Linked DNA regions of Homo sapiens: all the other regions are linked to region 3. Evidence: promoter capture Hi-C in human tissues and cell types (Jung and others, 2019). All regions are on one chromosome and are shown on one strand. The core of a region is centred on a gene start or on the middle of the fragment in contact, and the rest is flanking DNA. Distances in the headings are between cores, read along the strand shown. Region 1 holds the start of ABCA7 (ATP binding cassette subfamily A member 7). Region 2 holds the start of HCN2 (hyperpolarization activated cyclic nucleotide gated potassium and sodium channel 2). Region 3 holds the start of PTBP1 (polypyrimidine tract binding protein 1). Region 4 overlaps POLRMT (RNA polymerase mitochondrial). Region 5 holds the start of WDR18 (WD repeat domain 18).

Region 1 (4,442 bases), core at 1-2,500, 240 kb before region 3:
GACTGGGCAGGGGACGGGACAGAGAGGTCAGGACAACGGTCGGGCTGAAGACGTGCGGTGCGGCTGCGGGCAACTCCCTGCCCCTTTCTGAACCTCATTCCTTTATCCCACAGCGCAGGGTTCCTGGAAGCTCTGATTAGAGCGAGGCAAACAGTAGTCACTCGATAAAGAGGCTCCGCTACCCCAGGGGTGGAGTAAACCAATGGGAGCGCAACCCGCAGCCGTCCTCGCATCTGATTGGCTGCCAGGACTGTCGCTCTGAGCAGGGCTGACAGCTGGGGACTTAAAGATCATCCTCTAATCCTCCAGGGACCGAGTTTGGGCTTAACGCTTTCGTCACCAGGCTCCACCCCAAGCCTCACCTGGAAGCCTCTTCCAGGTCCTGACCCCCAGCCTCCTGCCTGGCCCAGCCCAGGCAAGGATTCCTTTCCCCTCACTGTTCTCCGAAGATAACAGCAACGAATATTGGCAGTGCTGGACATTTCACACGCCCAGGGGAAGTGCTGGACTATCACCCCACTCTACAGAAGTGGAAACCGAGGCCCAAGAAAGCAAACCCAGGCACCCAGAGAGACAGGCAGTTGCCCAGCTGGAGGCACGACCCCAGCTCTGCCCACACCTTATGTAGCATTAATCGCTCAGAGGGACCGCGGGAGCCAGAGAAAGAGTCAGGCGAAGGGGCTGGGATAGAGACTCCTGGAGTCAGCGATTCCTGATCTATTTTCCTTGGGCCGGTCCACCTCTGACACAGATGGAGAATCTGACGCTGACAGAGGGGCAGGAAGTTGCTAAAGGTGACCAGGCCGGAACTGGGACCTCAGACCCAGACCCTTACGCCAGGGTTCTTTCCTTTACATCAAGCGGGACTTAGGATCTGGGGGAGTGGGCTCAGTTTCTCCATTTGTAAGACGGGGCAAGGGGGAGTGCAGGAGTTCTAACGGGCAGGGGGCTGCAGGTGTGTGATCGGCAAAGGCCCTCTTAAGGGTCCCAGATGTCCGATGCCCCCCTTGAGAATCAGTGATCAATTCAGCCGTCGTCAACATTCACCGGAAGGAGGTCAGAGGCTGGACCCCCTAATTCCCAGGGAACTTGCATCCCTCCCGGCCCCAACCCCGCATTCTCGAGTCTCGGGCCTTCTTCCCTCTCCGAGTCCTTCTCACCTTCCAGGGGCTCCGCAGCTCTTGCCGCCTTCCCTCCGCCCAGCAGCAGGCAGGGAGCGCGCCGCCCCTTAAGCCAAGTGCGCTGAGCTTGCCCGCGCAGGTAGCAGCGCCGGGGCACGCCCCTGCCTCTGCACGCTGCTATTGGGCGACCTGCCCGTCACTCACTGGCCTGCTCCGTCGGAGCTGCGCGGGCCAAGGGAGGAGACGGGATCACAGAAGGGCCTCGCCTAGCCGGGTTTCTTAAAGGGACCGCGCGGCTCTTGCTGCATCACCGTAGGGTGGCGGAGTGCCCGGCAGGTCCCAGGCAGGCCGCCCTCCGGGAACGAGGCTGCGCTGTCTTTGGGGAGCCAGGCTGCCTCCCCACGTTGTATAACCGGCTGCAATACCGCAGCTCCGAATTGCAGGAGTTCCCTCTGTCCCCGCTGTCCCCGGGGCTGGCCAGGCTCCCTCTAGTTTAGTCCAGACTCTGGGACTACACTCGTCCGTCTGTAAAGTAGGGGTTCCACTAGATCATTCGTTCATTCATTCATTCCACGAACGCTCCTCGGCTTCTGCAGAGGATGGCAGGAGGGGGAGGGGGCCAACATTCTAGAGTCTCCGATTATAGTGGCTACCCTGATTTTGAGGAAAACCCGTTTCCCACTCTGGAAGAAGAGTTGAAATAAACTCTTCAGGCTGGAGGTGAAGCTGAAATGGGAGCGTGTGGGTCCACAGCTTTGAAGGCGCTGGGGAGAGTGAGAGGCGTGGGGACGGCTCCCGCGGCAGGAGGTGGCATTGCCGTTGGGGCTTTGAGGATAAATAGGAGTTCGCCAACGGGGAGACATCCAGGCTGAGGCCACGAGACTTGCGCTGTAAGGTAGAGTGCAGCCAAAGCGCATGGGGGGCATTTGAGGGAACTGCCTCTTCTCCAAATGGCCAGGAAGCCCAGCCTCTCCCTCTACCCCAAGTCCCGGCCCTTCAAATCATTCATTCCACCCAGACTCACCTGTGGCTTCAGCTTTTGCTCCTCCTCCCAATGGTGAGGTGGACATTTTCCCCTTGATCCCCCCATCCCCCAAGACCTCCTCTCTCCCCACAAAAGCATCAAAGCAAAGCACGCCCTCATCGACGCCAACTCTCTTGGCCACCTTCTCTTCGTACAAACAGAGGTTTTATTGCGTTTGGTCCACAGTCGTATTTCACATTATCTCACGGAGCAGGTCCCCTGGGTGGGGGGTCCCTGTGCAGTACTTGGCGGGGCATGTGGCCGGGGAAGATGGAGCAGTATAAGCTGGTCGGGCCCAGAAGGGAGGAGGGCTGGGGGCTCCTTAAAACCTACTGAGGGGCTGGGCACGGTGGCTCACACCTGTAATCTCAGCGCTTGGGGAGGCGGAGGCGGGCGGATCACACCTGAGGCCAGGAGTTCGAGACCAGCCTGGCCAACATGGGGAAACCCCATCTCTACTAAAAATACAAAAATTAGCCGGGCGTGGTGGAGCACCTGCAGTCCTAGCTACTCAGGAGGCTGAGGCTGGAGAATCGCTTGAGCCCGGAAGGTGGAGGTGCAGTGAGCCAAGATGGCGCCACTGCACTCCAGCCTGGGCAACAACCACAACTGAAAAAAAAATCTACTGAGGCCAGAGTGGGTTGGGGCGGGGAGCATGGAGAGGGGGTCAGGCTTAGCCCCAACAACTCAGAATTTCACTTCCTTGTACGGCCCTCACTTTCTCCACCTGGCCCCGGGGCAGGTCTGAGGGTCTGAAGTCTGTTGGTCTGAAGGTCCTAGGCAAATCCAGTCACTTGGGAGCCGGAGATATTTAACATCACGGCCCGGTCCCCTTTCCCAGGGGACTCATTTCCTAGCACTCTCTCCACTGTCCTTGCCCCACCCCTGGGGGAAAAAATGTATTTTTCTTTTGTGAATACTTCCTGAAACTTGCGGGCATAGAAACCACAAACTGCTCAGCTGACAAAAGGGGGAAGAGGCGAGGCAAGCAGAAACCGTCGGGGACCGGTTCCTTCCAAGCCCAGGTCTCTTCTTCCCAGCACAGCCTGAATGTGCCAGCAGGGACCCTCGCCCTACACGTATTGGGATATGGCCTTGACCCCTTCCCCCACAGCCCAGTGGCTCAGCCTTGCGAAGGATCAAGGCAAAGGGGAAAAAAGCTCTGCTGCCTGATCCCACGCTGACACTCACAGACCCTTGGTTGACTGGCAGCACTGAACGGGTTAAGAAAAAAAAAAAAAAGATGAAAACACAGAAAAACCCAAAAACCCAGATGGGCAGACGATGTGGGGAGAGAGCGTGCTGGGAGCCTCAGTAGCCGGCCTCCTCCTGGTAGTAAGGGGGATATTCAGGGACCTCCCCCGGGTCCGGGCAGTCGCCGGTGCCCGAGGGAGCCCCATCGGCCACTGTGCCTTGCGGGCAGTACTTGGGGTCATATATCTGCCGGCCCAGGCCGAAGACCTGGCCGCTCTGGTTGGCGCCCTGCGTGTAGCCCATCTGCAGGGACATGGAGGAGTTGTCACACTTGTCGGTTCCCAGCTTGGTATCATAGATGTGCCGCCGGGTCCCGGGAGCCGTCATGCCCACCTGGAGAGGAAGGAGGGGTGGAGCAGGTCATGGTGGAGAGAAGAGGGGACCTTCACTGGGTGCACTGGCTCACGCCTGTAATCCCAGCACTTTGGGAGGCCAAGGTGGGAGGATCACCTGAGGTCAGGAGTTCCAGTCCAGCCTGGCCAACACGGTGAAACCCTGTCTCTCCCAAAAATACAAAATTAGCTGGGCGTGGTGGCACATGCCTGTAATCCCAGCTACTCGGGAGGCTGAGGTGGGAGGATCACCTGAGGTCAGAAGTTCAAGACCAGCCTGGCCAACACGGTGAAACCCCATATCTACTAAAAATACAAAAATTAGCCGGGCGTGGTGGCGGGCGCCTGTAGTCTCAGCTACTCGGGAGGCTGAGGTGGGAGGATCACCTGAGGTCAGGAGTTCAAGACTAGCCTGACCAACACAGTGAAACCCCGTCTCTACTAAAAATACAAAAATTAGCTGGGTGTGGCCGGGTGCGGTGGCTCACACCTGTAACCCTAGCAGTTTGGGAGGTCAAGGCGGGTGGATTGCCTGAGCTCAGGAGTTCGAGACCAGCCTGGGCAACATGGTGAAACCCCATGTCTACTAAAAATACAAAAATTGGCCGGGTGTGGCAGCATGCACCTGTAGTCCCAGCTACTCGGGAGGCTGAGGCAGGAAGGAGAATCTCTTGAACCCGGGAGGCAGAGGTTGCAGTGAGCCGAGATCGT
Region 2 (5,280 bases), core at 2,781-5,280, 210 kb after region 3:
CCTGCCGAAGCCCTGGGGGTTGCATAAGGCCAAACCCCTTCCTTCTTGGTTTTCACGCCTGTTCCAATTCAGGCACCAACCGTGATCACCTACAAGGAAGGGAACTTGAGCCTCTGGAACCCAAAACCTTGAACTTGGGTCCTTGAACTTGCTCTTCCACCAGCACCCCAGGGAAGCGCCCAGCATGCCTCTGGGGACTTTCAGACGTCAGGCCGGGGTGTAGAGCCACCCACAGCCCCAGAGACTTCAGCAATAGACCAACTGCACTTCTTCTTCCTTTTCTTTTTTTTTGAGACCAAGTCCCACTCTGTCAGCCAGGCTGGAGTGCAGCAGCGCGATCTCGGCTCACTGCAACCTCTGCCTCCTGGATTCAAGTGATTCTCCTGCCTCAGCCTCCCGAGTAGCTGGGATTACAGGCGCTCGTCACGATGCCCAGCTAATTTTTGCATTTTTAGTAGAGACGGGATCATCTCACCATGTTGGCCAGGCTGCTCTCGAACTCCTGACCTCAGGTGATCCGCCCGCCTCAGCCTCCCAAAGTGCTGGGATCTCAGGCGTGAGCCGCTGCACCCTGGCACCAACTGCACTTCCAAAGGGGCCAGCCGCCCAGGCCTGAGAGCCGAAATCTGGACCCACGTCAGCCCAGGACCCATGCTCTGCCCCTCAGAAAATTCAGCAAATATGTGGCACCTGCTGTATACTGGGACTGGGACGTGGGGCGTGAAAGAGGCCACTTCCGAGCACGGGAGCAGGGTGGACTTGGGCGTGGCGGAGACAGCTGGGCAGCGAGGAAGAACCGGGGTGAGGGCGTGCCTGGGGGGCACAGGCTGGGCAAGGAGCACAGCACTCTCTCAGCAGGAAGGGGAGGTGAAGAGAGTGTGAGACGTGAGGCTGAGACACTGGCAAGGCTGTGAAAGACCCCATCCTTCTCCCTCATACCATCCCCACCGTGCAATTGGGGAAACTGAGGCAGAGGGGCCCAGCGAGGACCCAAGACACCCAGCCAGGCACAGGAGGCCTTGGGCCCGAAGCCAGTTGGGGCCAGGCTCCTGAGTCAGCTGCAAACGTAGAGGCCCCTTCGCTTGCTGTGGGCTGCCCCAAAACACCCTCCACAGCAGGGTCCGGCCGCCTGCTTAGGGAGCTTTTGAGATATTCTTGGGGGTCTTTTTCCACACTGATTCCACACTGGCACAGGTCCCAAGCCTGGGGAGGGTCCTAGGGGCCCCGTGCACCCAGCTTGGCAACATCGAAATCCTTTTTTAAAATCTGACTGCCGTGACTCCCCTAGTCCCGAAGACAGGCCCCGCTAACCCCATTCCCTGCCTGCTCAGTTCCACTTCAACACTCATCTGCCGGGGTGGGGCTGCACTTGGTCCACACAGGGGCCTCTGAGCCCTCTATGCCTCAGAGCACAGAGCGGGGCCACAGCCTGCCCAGGCCTCCAGGCGACCACGCCCAAGGAGGGTGGAAGGATGAGAGGGCTTCACTCCTACCACCGGCCTTCCCCCCAAGCCCCGGGATCAGCCATCTGCCCACCTGCCCCCCAGGCCACCGACCGCCCCTCTGCAGCCAGGGGGTCGCTGGAGCTGCCCAGGGGAGGGAGTGGCTGGTGTGGGCCTCCACCTGCCAGCCCCCACGCTGCGGTGCACCCATCTCTGTCGAAGGTCATGCTGGAGGGGACGGAGGGGAGTGGGCACGTTCTACAGCTCCCTCTCCACCGCGTCCCTCTCCGGTCAGGGGGTGCCACTGCCCGACTGGAAGTGGGGCCAGGCCGACCAGCAGCCCTGGAAGTCCAGTCCTTCCCGCTCACTGTCCACATTTCGCAGGCCAGAGCCCAGATGCTGACCAAGCTCTCCCGGTGGGGCACAGAGGCAGGGTGGGAGGGGCCGGACACAGCCCCTCTGGGGATTTCGGGGCTCCTCCCACCCCTGGCCTGTCTCGAAATCCAGGCTTCTGGTCAAAGCTGTATTCACCTCTCAGGAAGGCCTGGGGTGGGAGGAGGATTCCAGGGCCTTCCTCCAGGCTCTGTCCAGGACGCATGTGCCCCAGGCCTCAGTTTCTCCAGTCAAGCACTAGGGGTGCAGAGAATCCAGGGGAAGAGAGAACCCCACAGCCTCCCTGCCCAGTTCCGGGGGTCCAGGGTCCGTGGGGGCTGTCCTGGGGCGCCCAGGCCTGGAGGAGGAGAGACAGGCGGGAAAACCGCAGGCTTCCCAGGTCCGGCGCGCTGTCCGTGGTGCTGAAACCGCGCCCGTCCCGCGCGCCCGGCCTCGCTAGCCCGGCGGGCCCCACCTACACCCTCCACCTGCACCCTCCACACCCCACCTCACACCCCACTCGTGGATACACAAACACACACGCATCCCTCCATGGTCGCGTGTGTGAGACCTGCCTGCGGCTCACACTACTGCCCACCGGTGCACACCGGCCCCGGGCGTACACGCGCACGCCCGCCACCTGGTCCCAACACACACAAACCACACGTCCCACCAAAATAAACCCACCGGAGGCGCACACGCCCGCGACCACCACGCAAACACACTCCTGGAGACACACCTCTCCGGCCACAGGCTCGCGCCCCGGGAACCCCGCCGCGGTCACGGGCCCCTGTTCACACACAGCCCACGGGGACACGCGCCGGTCTCGCTCTCCGGCCACAGCACGCACAGCCCAGGAACCACGACCGCAAACATCAGTGGCGGTGGCCCCGCGCCGGCCCTGCTCCGAGCCTTCCACGCATTAGCCGGCTGGATCCACAGCGGCGTCTACACACCCACCGCCGCATGCGCGCACCGCCCGCGGCTCGGGTGGAGCGGCTCCCGGGGACACAGCCTGGGGACCCGCACGCTTTCCAGGCCCGCGGCCCCGGGCGCGCCTCCTCGCAGGCGGGGCGCGGGTGGACGCCGTGGGAGCCGCTTAACCCCCTCTCCCCCGGCCTCCCTGGGGCGCGTCCTTCCCGGGCGCCCTTCGTTCCTCCTCCCTCCCGCTCCGCCGCCTCTCTGGGGCCCACGTTCCCCTCTATTCGTCCTCTCTGCCCCTCTGCGCTCAGACCCTGGCCCTGCGGCCCACCCCACCCGCCGCGCCGCAGGGCGGAGGATGTCGGGGTGCGTGGGAGGGGGGCGCTCCGCGGTCACCCGGGGAGCCCCCCCAGAGGCGGAGCCTCGCGCGCCGGGGTCACTCCGGGGCGGGTCCCGGACACGCCCGAGGTCACCGAGGAGCCCCGAGGTCACCGGCCCGGCGCGCCGCCCCGCCCTCCCCAGGCGCTCCAAGGACGGCTCCCCGCGCGCCCGGCTCCCCGGGCCCCCTCGCGCCGACCGGCCCTCCCGGAGGCGGTACCTGAAGTCGCTGTACGGGTGGATGATCCAGGCCCCCGCCGACTTGACGCGCTCCTGCTCGCGCTCCACGGCCTTCTGGCTGCCGAACATCCGCAGCGAGAACTTGTTGACGCCCGGCTGCAGGAGCGCGCCGAACTGGCGCTGCATGAAGCTGGCCTGGCTGCCGCGCGGCTCCCCCGCCGGGCCCGCCTCCTCGCTGCCCGCCTCCTCCGCCGGCCCCGGCCCCGGCGCGGGCCCCGAGGCCGCCCCGCGGCACGAGAACGACACCTTGGGCCCCCGCGCCGGGCCCTCGGGCCCCGCGGGGCTGCACTGCGGCTCGCCGCGCCCGCACTCGCCGTTCGGGCTGCCCTTGGCCGTGCTCGCCGCGCCCGGGGTGCCGGGGCGGCCGCACGAGCTGTCGCGGCTGCGGAGCCGGCCCCGCGGGCCGCCCTCATCCGCCGCCTCCGGGGGCAACGCCTCGGCCCGGGGCGGGTGCTGGGGGGGCGCGGGCCCGGGGCCCGGGGGGGGCGCGGGCGGCGGCGGCGGCGGCGGCTGCTGTTGGGGGGGCGCGGGCGGCGGCGGCGGCGGCGGCCCCGGCGCGGGGGTCGCGCCCGGGCTCTCCCCGGGCCGCCCGCCGCCCCCGCGCGCGTCCATGGCGAGGCGGCGCCGGGCAGTGCGGAGCGGAGCCGCCGCCGCCGCCGCCGGCCGGAGCCCGAGGGAGGGGGGAGGCGGGGGCGGGGCGGGGCGGAGCCGCGGGGGGCGGAGCCTCGCGGCGGGGGAGGGGCGGGGGAGGGGCGGGGGCGGGAGACCCGCCTCGGCTGCGCCCCCTCCCCGCGCGCCGCCTCCGCTCGGCGCCGGGAAACTCGGGCCGCGGGGTCGGGGGCGCCCCAAGGTCACGCGGCCCGAGGCCTCGGAGCCCCGCGCGGGCCTCTCCCCAGGAGGGGAAACTGAGGCCCGCGACGTGTAAGGACGCGCCCAAGGTCACCGGGCCCCGCTGCCCGGCCGGAGCCGCCTCTCCTGCGCCGCGGCTTCCACCTCTGTCCGGAGGGCACCGGCGCGGGGAGGGTGGACGCGGGCCTGGGAGACGGGAGAGGCCGCCACGGCCAGCGCCTCCTTGCTTTCTGTGAGGTTTGAAGACTTCCACGACGAAAGGGTGTTTCTAAAGGTCACAGGAGCCCTTGCTGGGTCGCCTGTGGGCCCTGGACAGAGACCCTTGAGTGCGTGGGGAGGGGCAGGCCGGCTTGGGCGCCGTTCTGGGAGACTCAGGCACTCCTCTCCCTGGTCTGCATTTGAGGAAACTGAGGCCAAGCCCAGCCAGACAAGGAAAACTGGAAAAGCCACCCGAGGGTGTGGGGTTCCCACCCACCCCTCAAACAGTGCCCTGGGGAGCCGTGCGGCGGGGGTCTCCTCTAGGTCTGGTGGGCTTTAGATTGGGGTCACAGGGAGACCCAAAGCCCACTAGCGCCTTCGCACGGGTACCAGAGCCCCCTGCCCCGGGGTTGCCTCCTTTCCCCGACCCCTCGGACTCCGGGTGCAGCTGTGCCCCCAGTGCCTCCAGTCCCCAGCTCTGAGACAGGTGCTTCCCAAGGCTCTGCTTCTGGGCCGAAGCCGGCTGGGCGTGGGTGCTGCTTGGTGCCAGGTGACATGAGGCCTCTGTCCCTAGCCACCCAGCCCACCAGACAGCCGGGAGGGGGCAGGTGAGGAAGCTGGCAAGTGAGAGAGAGGAGACAGACAGTCACACTCGAAGAAGTGGAGGCTGAACATCCCCACCTGGAGGCAGGAGGCCCTCCTGGGACCCTCCTGGCACCTGGCCTGACGTCCTCTCAGCCACGATGTCCCGTGTGCCGGGTGCCCCCCACCCATCTGCACCTCGAGGCCACCGGGGCAGAGATGGCCCTCTTCCTACACCCAGGAGGCACTCAGTGGTACTTGAGGGAGGGCCAGCATGTGCCCGGCTGACAGTGGATGG
Region 3 (4,762 bases), core at 91-2,590:
ATAGAAAGCCGGACTGTCCGAGGCCCTCCCTTCAGCCCCGGCCAGGTCCTGACCCAACAGTGAGCTCCCCACGGCTTCTCCCGGCCACTGCAACTCCCGGCGAGGCCCTAAGTGACTCGGAGCGTCCGTCGGAAGGGCAGCCTCCGGGCCTCCTGCCTCACTCCGGGAGGCGAGTGCGCGGCCCCCGAGCCCGCGGTGCTGGGTCCGAGAGCGGGGAGCCCTCGTCTCGCCGTCTGCAGGACCCACCTGCCCGCACGCATGCTAAGGGGTCCAGACCCACTCTAGGGCTGCGCCTCTTCTGACACCACAGACTGCACGGACCACGTTTAACAGACTTTTAAAAGTGACTGAACCCAAGAAAAACTTCTCAGGAAAACGGAAAGAATGCGAAACATCTCCAGCCTCTCCCGCTTCCTATTCCCAGGGAGGGCCTCGCGCAGGAAGCGCTCGGCGGGACACGGCCTTTCTGGAGGGGGCTCCCACCTCTCCCAAGGGAAGCCCGCCCAGCAAAGCCGCCCGGAAAGGCTGCCCCGGCCCGAGAGCCGGGAAGGCCCCTCCCCATGACGGCGCCCGCGGGGGTCCCTGGAGAGGCCCCTCCGGCCCCGGGGCGGAGGACAGACCCTCGGGGCGGCCGCTTCTCTCCCGAGATCACCGAAACCCCTTGGCCGCGGCCCGGGGCGCACGGGGGGCAGGGGTAGGGCGGGGAGCGCAGAGACTCGGGCCCGCGGCGAGGCCCCGGCGCCAGCTTTCCCTCCCGGCGGCCGCCCCAGCCCCGCCTGCGCTTCCGGGGCTGCGCCGGGGGCAGAGTCCGGGCGGCGGGAAAGGCGCGCGCCCCCGATGGCGGCCGCGCACGCGCGCTGGGGCCAACGGGGACGCGCGACGGGCTACGCAGGCGCACGAGGGGAGCGGACGGGAGGCGGGAAGGGCCATCCGGGCGCGCGAGGGCCGGACGGGAAGCGGGAAGGGCCGCGCGCCGCCGAGGCGGGGCAAAGGCGAAGTGCGGGGACGCGCGCGGAGGGGGAGGGGCGCGGGAGGCCGCGTGCGCTAGGGACGGGGCGCGCGGGGGCCGGAAGCGGGCCGGACGGGGGATGGGGACGCGGCCAGACCCCCGGGAAGCCCCTGACCCGCCCCGCACCCGCGCCCGCCACGCGGAGAGGAAGGGGAGAGCCCGCCGCCCCCTCCCGCCCGAGAGGGGGCGAGATCGGCCCCGGGGAGGCCGGCGCGGCGGCGGGGGCAGGGCTGCGGCGCGGGGAGGGCGGTGGGGCGCGGGGCGACGTGCGACTCACCCGTCCATGGCACACAGAGCAGACCCGCGGGGGACGGAGTGGAGGCGCCGGAATAGCAGGAACCGACCCAACGGCTCCGAGTTATAGACTCACAAAATGGCGGAGACGCCCGCACACGTCCCCCGCGCGCGCTGCCCATTGGCTCCCGCTGCAGCCAGGGGGCGGGGAGAGCCCCGCGGGCCCCCGCCAGCACCTCCCACTGGCCAGAAGGCCGCCCGGGGGCGGGACCCAGAGAAATCGCAGGCGCCTATTGGGGGAGGCGGTTATTCCTCAAGGCCGAAGGCGGAAACGGCTTGTGTAGTCGGGGGAGGGGGAGAAAATGGGATCACGTGACGGCGTCTGAGCCAGTCAGCTGGCGCGTGGCTTTGCGGGAGACGCCATCTTGAGAGTGGGTACGTGGCGAGTCAGGCGGCGGGAAGCGTGCTTTGCCCAGGCTGCCGCCATCTTGCAAGTGGGCAGGACCCGCCCGCCTGGGCCGTGAGGGCAAAGGGAGTCGCATCGCCATCTTGGAGTCGGGCAGGAAACCCTCAGGGCTCCATGTTGGTTGTGGGCACATGGCCAAAAAGTCCGATTCAAACTGAGCGCTCACATCTGGGTGATCGCGCGGGGAGGGAAAGGCCGCGTCGCGTCCCGGACACGCCAGGGCTGTTTCCACAGTGGCCACAGATACTGCGGGCGCGCCATGATCCGGGGTCACCCCCGACCGTTCTTTGTTCGCCCCGGAACAGCGAATCCCGACTGCGGAGATAGGGAAACTGAGGTCCGGGCCCCGCACAGTCCGCGGCCGGCTGCCTACAGCTGGGAAAACTGAGGCCTGGACCTTGTACAGTCCGCGGCCGCCCGCCTACAGCTGGGGAAACTGAGGCCTGGACCTTATACAGTAGGCGGCCGCCCGCCTACAGCTGGGGAAACTGAGGCCTGGACCTTGTACAGTCCGCGGCCTCTCACCTACAGCTGGGGAAACTGAGGCCTGGACCTTGTACAGTCCGCGGCCGCCCGCCTACAGGTGGGGAAACTGAGGCCTGGACCTTGCAGTCCTTGGCCGCCCGCCTACAGCTGGGGAAACTGAGGCCTGGACCTTGTACAGTCCGCGGCCTCTCACCTACAGCTGGGGAAACTGAGGCCTGGACCTTGTACAGTGGGCGGCCGCCCGCTTACAGCTGGGGAAACTGAGGCCTGGACTTTGCACAGTCCGCGGCCAACCGCCTAAAGCTGGGGAAGCTGAGGTCCGGGCCACACACAGTCCACGGCCATCCGCCTACAGCTGGGGAAACTGAGGCCAAAGCCACACACAGTCCACGGCCATCTGCCTACAGCGGGGGAAACTGAGGCCCAGGCCACACACAGTCCACGGCCATCCGCCTACAGCTGGAGAAACTGAGGCCCGGGCTCCATACAATCCAAGGCCGCCCGCCTACAGGTGGGGAAACTGAGGCCCAAGCCACCCGCCTACAGCTGGGGAAACTGAGGCCCGAGCCCCCTACAGTCCCTGGCCCACTGACCTACAGCTGGGGAAACTGTGGCCTGGAGCTCGTACAGTTCGAGGCTGCCAGCCTACGGCTGGGGAAACTGAGGGCCAGGCCCAGCAGGGTCACCAGGAGGGTCCCTCCCGGGCCACCATCCCAGCAGCAGAAAACACCCTAAACTAATGTTCCCAGGAGCGCTGATCACATGAAGAGTCTGACAGAGCTGTGAGGGTGCCTGACGGGGAGGCCAGGTCAGCGGGTTGGGAGCCATCCCAGAGTGAGGGGATGACCCCGGCCCTCCACACTGGGACCCTCACGGGAGGCTGCGGTTGGAAACCGGAGCAGTTCCCGGCCCGGAGTAGACACTGCTCCCTAAATAGAATTAGCGGGATTTAGTCCATGCTGAAAAGGGGGTTTTTCATTAACACCAACCTACGGAGGGAGAAGACATGACAATTCTCGTTTCCCCAAATCCAGGCGAGCCTAGCGCCCTGCTTCTCTGGCGTGTTTTATTCCAGCAGTGCTGCGTTTCAGGCCGGGGCCTGGCGTGGGCCCAGGAGCCTTGGAGCCCCGCCGGGCGTCTGGTGCCAGAGGATTCCAGCCCGGATTAGGGGTGGCCGCCGAGCTCCATGGAGGCATCGCACGGCAAGGTCCTTTGGCCCGAACCACCCGGTCAACGGAGACTCACCAAGAGCCATCTGCAGCCAGGGTCACTCATCAGGAATGTCCGGTGGATCTGGGAGAAGCCCAGTGTGTTACTGTGGATTTGCTCCCCTGGAGACCCCCATCCTCACACCACCAGAACCAGCCGCTTCTGTCTGTTCGCGGAGTGCCTGGGATGGGCCCCGCCCTGAAAGCAGACAGGCAGGGGCGGCCGGGGGTCTGAGTGGCAGCTGGCAGCAGTAGAGACCACCAGGTTCCAAGCACCAGTCTAACCCTTCGGAATCGTGTTAAAACCCACTTCTGATCGTGGCCCCGCCAGGCCTCCTGTCTTGCTCAAAGTATAAACCCAAGGCCATCCCTTACCCCGCAAGCCCCACATGACCAGCCACCTGTCCAGTACCTTTTTTTATTTTTATTTTTTTAAGACAGTGTCTGGCCGGGTGCAATGGCTCACACCTGTAATCCCAGCACTCTGGCAGGCCGAGGTGAGTGGATCACCTGAGGTCAGAGTTCGAGACCAGCCTGGCCAACATGGAGAAACCTCCTCTCCACCAAAAATACAAAAATTAGCCAGGCGTGGTGGTGCATGCCCTATAATCCCAGCTCCTTGGGAGGCTGAGGCAAGAGAATCACTTGAACCCGGGAGGCGGAGGTTGCAGTGAGCCGAGATTGCGCCATTGCACTCCAGCCTGGGCAACAGGAGTGAAACTCTGTCTCTAAAAAACAAAAACGAAAATAAACACCTGTCATCCCAGCACTTTGGAAGGCCGAGGCAGGCGGATCACAAGGTGAAGAGCCTGAGACTATCCTGGCCAACATGGTGAAAGCCCGTTTCCACTAAAAATACAAAAATTTGCCGGGCGTGGTGGTTTGCTCCTGTAATCCCAGCTACTCGGGAGACTGAGGCGGGAGAATCACTTGAACGCGGGAGGCGGAGGTTGCAGTGAGCCTAGATTACGCCACTGTACTCCAGCCTGGGCAACAGAGTGACACGCTATCTCAAAAAAAAAAGTAAAAATAAAAAATAAAATGTATGTCGCGGAATTTAGGGTCTACCTGCAGACTCCAGGATGATCTCATCTCAAGACACTTAATGGTACCTTCAAAGACTGGTGTTCCAAATGAAGCCTTGTTCACGGGTTCCAGGGTTTAGGATGTGGTTGTCTTTCTTTGGGGCCACCTCTCAGCCCCTCAGCCCCACCCACCACCTGAAGCTTAGAGGGCGATAGCAGGTACAAGCAGGCCGTTTGTTTTTGCAATGGCGGCCTGGTCCCAGGAACCCCCCCCACCGCCTCCACCTCACCCAGGTCACCTGAAACCAGTGTCCTTCCTGGGCTGGCCTGACAG
Region 4 (4,778 bases), core at 560-3,059, 170 kb after region 3:
GGCTGGTCTTAAACTCCTGACCTTGTGATCCTCCTGTCTTGGCCTCCCAAAGTGCTGGGGTTACAGGCATGAGCCACTGTGCCTGGCCAAAAATTAAATGAAAAAAAAAAAAATTGCAGGGGATATTTAAGCTATACATGGCTGGGCGTGGTGGCTCACACCTGTAATCCCAGCACTTTGGGAGGCCGAGGCGGGTGGATCCCCTGAGGTCAGGAGTTGGAGACCAGCCTGGCCAACAGGGCGAAACCCCATCTCTACTAAAAATACAAAATAATTAGCTGGGTGTGGTGGCATGTGCCTGTAGTCCCAGCTACTCAGGAGGCTGAGGCAGGAGAATCGGTTGAACCCGGGAGGCGGAGGTTGACAGTGAGCTGAGATTGCGCCACTGCACTCCAGCCTGGGCGACAGAGCGAGACTCTATCTAAAAAAATAATTAAATAAAATTTCCAAAGAAGAAGTAAACTATGAAGTTCGAAAACACTTGGAGATAATGAAAATGAAAACACCACCTGTCAGAAGTCCTGGGATGCAGCTGACACAGTGCTCGCAGGGTAATTTATAGTCACAAAATGCCTATATTCGGAAAGGTGATGGCCGGGCGCGGTGGTGCACACCTGTCATCCCAGCACTTTGGGAGGCTGAGGCTGGCGGATCACGATGTCAGGAGTTCGAGACCAGCCTGGCCAGCATGGTGAAACCCCGTATCTGCTAAGAATACAAAAAATTAGCTGGTGTGGTGGCGTGTGCCTGTAATCCCAGCTACTCAGGAGGCTGAGGCAGGAGAAGTGCTGGAACCTGGGAGGCAGAGAACCCGGCCCAGCTGAGATTGTGCCACTGCACTCCAGCCTGGGCAACAGAGCAAGACTCCATCTTGGGGGGAAAAAAAGTGAAACATCTCAGACCAAATACGTCACCTTTCACCTTAGGAAACTAGAAGAAGAAGCTGTCACTAAACCTAAAGCAAGTAGATGAGAGGAAGTTACAAAGATTAAAACAAATCGATGAAATGGAAGGCAGAAACAGCAGAGAACAGTCAAGCCAAGTCAGTCCTTTGAAAAGATCCACACAATTGACAAATCTGGAGGTTTAACAAGCTGCCTCCCAGAGGAACGTGAACCTCCCACAGTCCCACCTGGCGGGCCATGCGGCTGCCTCTGCAGGTGGAGCTTGTGTGTCAGAACCTCAGGGGGATGCATCGGTCTGCCCAGCTGGCCACTCCTGCCTGGTGACCCTGTCCCCTGCTGAGCTGGTGGCTACAGAGAAGGGGTCTCCAGGGAGCAGGGAGGATGTGGAGGTTGGGCCATCCCCCCAGACCCTCACCCTGGCTTGGTCTCCCAGGGTGCCTTCAAGGAGCTGGTATATGTGTTATTCATGGTGAAGGATGCCGGCTTGACTCCGGACCTGCTGTCCTATGCGGCTGCCCTCCAGTGCATGGGGAGGCAGGACCAGGACGCCGGGACCATCGAAAGGTAGGTGGTGTCGGGAGGGCCCCCACCCCCCACCATGTCCCTCCCAGGGTTTTAAGATCTGGGACGGTGCCTGGGCTGGGGGCTGGGGACCCCCAGAGGGCCTGACAGCCACACCGAGACCTGCAGGCTAGCAGGAGGTGGTCACGAGGTTCCCCTGGGGTCTGTGGAAGCCCAGCGTGGGGCTGGCCCGTCCCTCGAGCAGGCCGCCTGCACCACAGGTGTCTGGAACAGATGAGCCAGGAGGGGCTGAAGCTGCAGGCACTCTTCACCGCCGTTCTGCTGTCTGAGGAGGATCGGGCCACTGTTCTGAAGGCCGTGCACAAGGTGAAGCCCACCTTCAGCCTCCCGCCGCAGCTGCCGCCCCCGGTCAACACCTCCAAGCTGCTCAGGGACGTGTATGCCAAGGTGAGCCCACGTGGGCCCCGGCAGACTTCAGTCCTTATAGCTGCCCTTTGGGGGTTCCTGGAGCCTCAGCTCAGACCAATGGGCCTCCCCGGTGCCCAGGGCTCACCTGGGCTGGGCCCTGAATTCCTCCCTTCCTCCTCTGAGAAGATGGGAGGACCCAGAGCTGGGAGGGTCTTGGCCCTGAGGGTGTGGGCTCAGGGGGACGAGGTGGTCGGGGGCCGCAGAGAGAGGGTGGGGTGACAGGAGAGCAGTGCGTTTGAGTGGGGCTGCCAGGTGCACGCAGTGGGCTCGTCTGTTACTGAGGTGTAATTCACCTGCCATAAAACCCTCTTAAAGGTGTAATTCAGCGATTTTAGTGTAGTCACGGTTGTCTAATTCTAGAATGTTCCATCACCCTAAAAGGAAGCCTCGTCCCCATCCCCGTCACTCCCCATCCCCTCCCCATCTGTGGATGAGTCTGCTCTGGACATTCCATAGAAATGGGACCACACACTGCGAGACCTTTTGTGTTTGGCATCTCCCACTGAGCGTGACGTCCTCATGGTGCCTCCGGGAGGCGACCTGGGTCAGGGCTGAGTCATGCTCCGGTGCGTGGATGGCCGCGCCGTGCCCGTCTGTTCGTCCGTTTATGGGACGTTGGGCTGTTTCTACTTATCGACTGCGAGTCATGCAGCTGTGAACGTTTGTGTACAAGCTTTTATGTGGACGTGCGTCTTTGATTCTCAAAGCGCTAGGCTTTAGTTGTTATTTTTAATTCATCTATTTCTGGATGGGTCACATTCATACAGTTCTGAGTTTGAGGAGAAAACAGCCAACATCTGGGGGTGCAGTGAACGGTCTCCCCAGGCTCTGCCAGCTCCCAGCATCACCGCCCCTGCCACCCCCTGCACGGTGCCCAGTGTCCCTTCTAGAGGGGTCGAGGCCAGGAGGGTCAAGGCCTTTGGTTTGCACTGCTGGCACTGACTTTACCCGCAGCCCGCCTTTCCCCGCGTCAGCGATAGCCACCAGCAACTTGCAGGAGACGCAGAAACGCGTGCACCCATGCTGTCTCGGGGTCCTGGGAGGGCAGGTCGCCCTCTGGCAAGCCCCCAACCTCACTACCCCCATCCCTGCAGGATGGGCGTGTGTCCTACCCGAAGCTGCACCTGCCCTTGAAGACCCTGCAGTGCCTCTTTGAGAAGCAGCTCCACATGGAGCTGGCCAGCAGGGTGTGCGTGGTGTCCGTGGAGAAGCCCACGTTGCCAAGCAAGGAGGTCAAGCACGCGGTAGGGGCTGAGCCGGGGTCCCGTGTCCGCCGCAGGGGCTGAGCCGGGGTCGCGTGTCCACCGCACGGGCTGAGCCGGGGTCCCGTGTCCGCCGCAGGGGCTGAGCCGGGGTCGCGTGTCCGCCGCAGGGGCTGAGCTCCGTGTATGCGGTTGAATTGCTCATGCCCTGGTCTGGTCATGCAGGGCCTAGGAACTCAGCCTGGCTGCCGCTCAGGGAAAACTTGTGGGGTCCCGAGGTTGGGTCTTGGCCTGTGCTTCTGCGCACACTGCAGCTGGGCTTTTGCTCTTGGCTGCGTCAGGCACGCTGAAGCCGGCAGAGGGCAGGCCGGGGTGAGGAGCTACCCGGAACACACAGCAGGGACCTTGAGGGCCATGAGGTCTCTGCAGGGAGCTGCGGTGACCCCCGTCCTGTGAGCCTGGGTCCCACCAGCTGCCACGGGGCTCACCGGGCCCGTTCATCCCCCGCAGCGGAAGACCCTGAAGACCCTGCGGGACCAATGGGAGAAAGCACTGTGCCGGGCGCTGCGGGAGACCAAGAACCGCCTAGAGCGCGAGGTGTACGAGGGCCGGTTCTCACTTTACCCCTTCCTGTGCCTGCTGGACGAGCGCGAGGTGGTGCGGATGCTCCTGCAGGTGCGTCTTCCTCCGCGCGGCCGGGTCCCCGGGCGGGGCGGGCAGGCACTCACGGCTGCCTTCCGCAGGTCCTGCAGGCGCTGCCCGCCCAAGGTGAGTCCTTCACCACCCTGGCCCGGGAGCTGAGTGCGCGCACTTTCAGCCGGCACGTGGTGCAGAGGCAGCGGGTCAGTGGCCAGGTGCAGGCGCTGCAGAACCACTACAGGAAGTACCTCTGCTTGCTGGCCTCCGACGCCGAGGTGAGGCTCGCACCCCCTCTCCTCCTGGCTGGGGCCAGTGGTGGGTGGGCGCTCTCCCTCCCTGGAGCAGCCGGGTTTGCACCCAAGCTTCAGTCTGTTCATCTGTATGCTTGGGCTGACAGATGCCCCACCGGGCGTCAGGCACGGGCGGTGGGGCATCTAGCTCAGGGGCCCCGGTGCCCAGCGCCCTGACCGCCCTGTCCTACAGGTGCCCGAGCCCTGCCTGCCGCGGCAGTACTGGGAGGAGCTGGGGGCGCCCGAGGCCCTGCGGGAGCAGCCCTGGCCCCTGCCAGTGCAGATGGAGCTGGGCAAGCTGCTGGCGGAGATGCTGGTGCAGGCTACGCAGATGCCATGCAGCCTGGACAAGCCGCATCGTTCCTCTCGGCTTGTCCCCGTGCTCTACCACGTGTATTCCTTCCGCAACGTCCAGCAGGTGCCAGGCAGTGCCCTCCTGAGCTGGGGGGCATCCCGCTGGGAGGACCAGGGACCCCATGGGGTTGGCGCCTTTGGGCGGAGCCTTGATCTCAGCGCAGCCGTCAGTACCTCCCAGGACTCGGGACACACCATGGGTGTCCATGCAGGTGTCCGGCCGTTTCTGGAGGTGGCTTCTGTTCGTGGGAGGCCACACTGGTTTCTTGTTGGCCGGGGAGCCGGCCCCTCTCACCCAAGTTTAAGGGGTGGGAACAGGAAAGCCCCAGCACCGGGGCCCTGACCCGTCTGCCTGTCGCACCCCAGATCGGCATCCTGAAGCCGCACCCGGCCTACGT
Region 5 (4,828 bases), core at 1,829-4,328, 190 kb before region 3:
CATACACACGTGTCCTGAGGGTGAGATAATGATGCCTCCTGTCATTCCTGTGCTGCCTGTCCCGACCCCCCTTTTCTTTGGAGACAAGGTCTTGCTCTGTCACCCAGGCTGGAGTGCAGTGGTACAATCTCATCTCACTGCAACTTCCGCCTCTCGGATTCAAGTGATTCTCATGCCTCAGCCTCCCAAAAAGCTGGGACTATAGGTGTATGCCACCATGCCCAGCTAATTTTTCTATTTTTTGCAGACATGGGTTTTCACCATGTTACCCAGGCTAGTCTTGAACTCCTGGCCTCAAGTGATCTGCCCGTCTCAGCCTCCCAAAGTGCTGGGATTCCAGGCATGAGCCGCCATGCCCATCCCCTGGTGGCTTTTTTATCTCTCCGAGAATGCTCATGCCCACCCAGCCCTCTCAGTTCTCTGAGCAGCCCACTGAGGGAAGCAAGGACAAGGTCAGGAAGGGCAGAAACATGGTTACCTTTGGGTCTTCTGGCCCCAGATCTTGTACTGTCTGCCCTGCTCTATGTGGGGTTGAGGGCAGGTCTCCCCCGAAATATAATGGACCATTTGTGACAACACAGCCGGTGATCTAACGCCACAGCTACGGTATGGGCCAAACTCCAAGAGGCCTGACTTTGTGAATGAAGTCTCCCTGGCACATCTCTGTGCCCACTCACTCACACATCATCCAGGGCTGCTTCCCCTCACCAGGGCAGAGCTGAGAAGCTGGCCTAAATGCAAAGCCTGAACAGTTCACTCTGTCTCGCAGTGAGAGCATGGCAGGATCCGGGCTGTGAGTGTGTCTAGGAGTTGCTGTCACCTGGTTGGTCCAGCGGTAAGAAAAAGGAGGCACTGGCCGGGCGCGGTGGCTCACGCCTGTAATCCCACTACTCTGGGGGGCCGAGGCGGGTGGATCACCTGAGGTCAGGAGTTGGAGACCAGCCTGACCAACATTGTGAAGCCCTTCTCTACTAAATACAAACAAATTAGCCAGGTGTGGTGGTGGGCGCCTGGAATCCCAGCTACTCAGGAGACTGAGACAGGAGGATTGCTTGAACCTGGGAGGCAGAGGTTGCATTGACTACCGGCATGAGCCACTGCGCCCGGCCGCCCTTTATAACTTTCAAGTCACAAGTGCCAGGCGCTGCCGCCTGCGTGGAAGAGATGCCCGCTAGCCCTGGAAGATGCTGCGGTGTGTGAGTGCCGGGGACTGGGCTGCACCGGGCTCTATCCAAGCACTCAAGGCAGGATTAGGGCTGGTCTGGGATTCGCAAGTCTCGAGGGGACCTGGAGAAAGGAGGCAGCAGGGTGAAGCTTAGGCTATAACCCCTGAGCAGTCACCCATCCCAGGGCCCCAGGCCGCATGGTTGTTCCCTGGTGCCCTGCAGGCAAAGCTCAGATGGGCTGAGATGTCCTGTGGGAAACGCTCACGCTTTGCTCCTCTTACCTCCCACAGGTGGATGCTTTCTGCAACTCCTGCCAGGACGTAGAGACCATTGGGTGATGCAGTCAGACAGGTGACAGGCCCGGGGCACATGATCTTCTGCTGGAGCTGGTCCTAAGGATGCACAGTCAGCCTCGTGAGCCCCATGCAGGACACGGGAGCTACTACAGCAGTGGAGGGCGAGGGGAGGGGACGCCTGGGCAATGGCTAAGTCAGAGAACCAGGAAGAGGAGTCGGGAGCAGGGTGGTTTGAGCAAATGCATGGTCCAGCAAGGAAGTGTTCGCCCCTGCAAGAGGCTTCGAGGCTGGAGGTGGTAGATGTGAGGTTGGTGCTTCCTCTGAGGGTCAGAGGGGCCCTGGGTGGGAGGAGTACAGGAACAGAACAAAGAGGATCCAGAAGGACACTGGGGCCCAAGAGCCCAGTAGGCTTGTGCCCCAATCCTTCTATCCATAATGTCCAACCTAAGACCCCAAGCCTCAGCTTCCTCCTCTCTAAAATGGGAAAACTCAGCCGGGCGTGGTGGCTCACGGCTGTAATCCCAGCACTTTGGGAGGCTGAGGTGGGCAGATCACTTGAGGTCAGGAGTTCGAGACCAGCCTGGCCAACATGGTGAAACCCTGCCTCTACAAAAAATACAAATGTGGGCCGGGTGTGGTGGTTGGTGCGGGCCTGTAGTTGCAGCTACTCAGGAGGCTGAGGCCCGAGAATCGCTTGAACCCTAGAGGCAGAGGCTGCAGTGAGCCGAGATCGCACCACTGCACTCCAGCCTCAGCGACAGAGTGAGACCCTGTCTCAAAACTAAAATAAAATGGGAGAAATTTATGAGTTGTGTGTAGACTCCATCAGGCAATGCTGGAGCACAGAGCCAGTCCCAAGAGATCTCAGCGGGCACACGGGGGAAGCGAGTAGCTTCAGGGACTGGCTGCATTTGGGCTTGGGAGTAGAGGGGAAACTGTGGGCGACGGTGAGTATCTGTTGCTTTATTGGAGGAATAAACATGAGTTTCCTGCGCCACCCCTTCATGGGAGACTCCCCCAGACCTTGGTCCTTCTCCCTTTTCCTCCAGAACCACAACATCCACAGAGCTCATAGGCCCCTTTTAATCAAATTTCGCGCTCCAAGAACTCGTGCATGCGCAATTGCCCCAAGGGACCCCCCGGAGCGTCTCCCATTTTCCCCCACTGCCCCCATAGCAGCTCAGGCCTGAGCCCCGCGCGTGCGCAGAGCGGCCTAACAGGTCGCACGTATCTCCCCAAAGCCCCCAGACCCGCGCATGCGCAGAGCGCCCGAACGGAGACCACCTCCCCTCCCCACGCCAATTCCGACTAAGGGTGCACGCGGCCCCCACCAACCCATCCCCCGACTTCAGCCTCGGGCGCCCCATGACCCCAGCAGCGAGACCGCACCGCCGCACCTTCCGCTGGAGCTCCCAGGCGCTGATGTAATTCTTGCCCAGCTGCGCCGCCAGCAGATACTCGCCATTGAGCAGCGCCAGGCCGCGGGGTCCCGCCTGGCCGCCGCGGTAGGTGAGCAGGTTGGCGCCCGAGTGAAGTTCCCACACGATGCAGCTCCACATCGGGGCCGCCGAGTCCGTACACACGGCCACCTCCATGGGCGCCGCCATCTTGCCTTCCCCACCGCCCCGGACGTGCGTCATCATGAGCGAGACGCGGACGACTGCCCCACGCGGGCCAGAGCGGCGGCCCCGCGGCCCCAGCGGGTGGCCGACCCGCGCATGCGCCCGTGCCTCGGAGAGAGGGGCTTTCTTGTGAAGTGGGATTTCCCGCTTACCTGAGACTCGAGGGTCGCGCGGCCTGCTTAGAGATCTGGGGAGGCGACTTCTTCCAAGGCCCAGGGTCTCCGGCGATCAGTTAGTAGCTCTAGAGCCGGGGTACCTGACTTGGCCTTTTCCTCCTGGGCATTTTTGGCCAAGTGACTCAAGCTCTTGGATTCATTTATTTTTAAATGTTCAAATAATAAAGTTCCGACGTCACAGGCCTAAATGACACATTGCGCCTAAAAGAGAGAGCGCACACCCAGCAACATGGCTAGTTGGCGATGAATACATTGGAATTCACTGCTTCCTTATTTATTTAGTTTTGTAGAGCCAGGGTCTCACTGTCCTGCCCAGGCTGGCCTCGAACTCCTGAGCTCAAGTGATCCTCCCAGCTCGGCCTGCCAAAGTGCTGGGATTACAGGCGTGAGCCACCGCGCCCGGCCCAGTGTTTCCTTATTGGTCGACATCTGCCTCCCCCTTGACCCCTCTTTAGGGGCCTCAACATCTAAATTATTAGTCGGATAGCTTGGTGTAGGTCAAACAAGTCGCCAGTTCTGTCCGAGCCAAGCAGGGTCTAACTTCATGTCACGGCTGCCCGTCACGGACCATGTCTGAAAACGGCATTCAAAAAAAAAAAAAGGCCGGGCGCTTTGGCTCAGGCCTGTAATCCCAGCACTTTGGGAGGCCGAGGTGGGTGGATTACCTGAGATCAGGAGTTCGAGACTACCCTGGCCAACATGGCGAAACCCCGTCTTTACAAAAAGTACAAAAAGCCGGGCGTGGTGGGAGGCTGAGGCAGGAGAATCGCTTGAACCCGGGAGGCGGAGGTCTCAGTGAGCCGAGATCCCAGGCACTCCAGCCTGGGCGAATGAGACTCTGTCTCAAAGAAAAACATATATCTATTATTTATTTATACTAAATATATATCTAGTAGAGATGGGGGGTCTCACTGTGTTGCTCAGGCTGGTCTCCAACACCTGGGCTTAGGCCTTGGCCTCTTAAACCGCTGGGATTACAGGCTTCAGCCACAACGTCCGGCCTAAAAACAGTATGATTTAAAATGTGCAATTAGTTGCCAACCCCTTAAAAAGGGATAAAAAGGGAGCATTCATTTAAAAGTCGGGATTTCCGCCCGGGGGTTGCAGCTGACCTGGGTCGTGTGCCCTCGAGCAGCAAGAGGCAGGGGCTGGAGGCTGCATGCGGGGTGCGGTCCCCGGAGGCGGTGCGACTCCTGGTCCGCGGCTCCCGGCGGAGGGCACGGCCGGGGCAGGAGGCTGGTGCCAGAGCGTGCGGCGCCGCAGCCCCGCTGGCCGCCAGGTGGCAGGCGCGAGCCACCGACCCCGAGCCCAGGCCAGAGGGAGGGCGGCCCCGGGGACCCGCCTGGTCGGCAGGAGGGGCCGTTTGAGCGGGGAGCCAGCGACCCCCAGAGAACCGTGTGCGGGGCAGGCCCGTGCGAAGGCCCTGGGGCAGGACCACGGAGCGGGGCCGGGCCGTGCAGGGCCGTGTGAACGAGGCCTGGATTTCATTTTATCCTGGGAGGGAGGGAGGGAGTCCAATCCAAGGACCTGCTGTGCCTCCAGAGTTTCCTCCAACCTCATTTTTATTT

What was found. The method cuts DNA at HindIII sites, captures the fragments that hold promoters and counts their contacts. A contact is called where the count stands out against the background at its distance.
Region 1: a contact is called between the fragment with the promoter of ABCA7 here and the fragment with the promoter of PTBP1 in region 3, in 1 of the 25 tissues and cell types used here (dorsolateral prefrontal cortex).
Region 2: the fragment with the promoter of HCN2 here is called in contact with the fragment with the promoter of PTBP1 in region 3 in 2 of the 25 tissues and cell types used here (dorsolateral prefrontal cortex and lymphoblastoid cells).
Region 4: a fragment that was not itself captured here is called in contact with the fragment with the promoter of PTBP1 in region 3 in 1 of the 25 tissues and cell types used here (dorsolateral prefrontal cortex).
Region 5: a contact is called between the fragment with the promoter of WDR18 here and the fragment with the promoter of PTBP1 in region 3, in 3 of the 25 tissues and cell types used here (dorsolateral prefrontal cortex, lymphoblastoid cells and spleen).

What each region holds. Positions count from the first base shown.
Region 1 is chr19:1,036,915-1,041,356 of GRCh38, reverse strand. It overlaps ABCA7 (ATP binding cassette subfamily A member 7), which reads right to left and starts at 1,250. Exons shown (of 47, transcript NM_019112.4): 1 at 1,161-1,250; 2 at 1-132. It overlaps CNN2 (calponin 2), which reads right to left. Exons shown (of 7, transcript NM_004368.4): 7 at 2,292-3,732. The coding sequence ends at 3,457. RefSeq lists enhancers at 1-203, 2,096-2,595, 2,596-3,097, 2,685-3,244 and a silencer at 115-254. The HindIII fragment of the contact is 21,554 bases long and covers 1-4,442 here.
Region 2 is chr19:588,631-593,910 of GRCh38, reverse strand. HCN2 (hyperpolarization activated cyclic nucleotide gated potassium and sodium channel 2) reads right to left here and starts at 4,030. Exons shown (of 8, transcript NM_001194.4): 1 at 3,334-4,030. The coding sequence starts at 3,965. It also overlaps the pseudogene LOC100420586. RefSeq lists an enhancer at 5,261-5,280. The HindIII fragment of the contact is 14,322 bases long and covers 1-5,280 here.
Region 3 is chr19:794,030-798,791 of GRCh38, reverse strand. PTBP1 (polypyrimidine tract binding protein 1) reads right to left here and starts at 1,340. Exons shown (of 15, transcript NM_002819.5): 1 at 1,287-1,340. The coding sequence starts at 1,294. RefSeq lists enhancers at 1-501, 502-1,387, 1,594-1,933, 1,586-2,221 and silencers at 644-953, 1,024-1,203, 1,214-1,563, 1,327-1,681. The HindIII fragment of the contact is 37,831 bases long and covers 1-4,762 here.
Region 4 is chr19:621,815-626,592 of GRCh38, reverse strand. POLRMT (RNA polymerase mitochondrial) reads left to right here. Exons shown (of 21, transcript NM_005035.4): 4 at 1,339-1,469; 5 at 1,688-1,874; 6 at 2,990-3,139; 7 at 3,608-3,772; 8 at 3,841-4,011; 9 at 4,220-4,444; 10 at 4,747-4,778. Among named protein-coding and RNA genes, the nearest start is that of POLRMT, 9.3 kb to the left of the region's middle. The HindIII fragment of the contact is 3,049 bases long and covers 285-3,333 here.
Region 5 is chr19:982,595-987,422 of GRCh38, reverse strand. WDR18 (WD repeat domain 18) reads right to left here and starts at 3,078. Exons shown (of 10, transcript NM_024100.4): 1 at 2,860-3,078; 2 at 1,448-1,558. The coding sequence starts at 3,069. RefSeq lists enhancers at 2,759-2,938, 2,969-3,118, 2,543-3,484 and silencers at 3,169-3,258, 4,423-4,812. The HindIII fragment of the contact is 34,067 bases long and covers 1-4,828 here.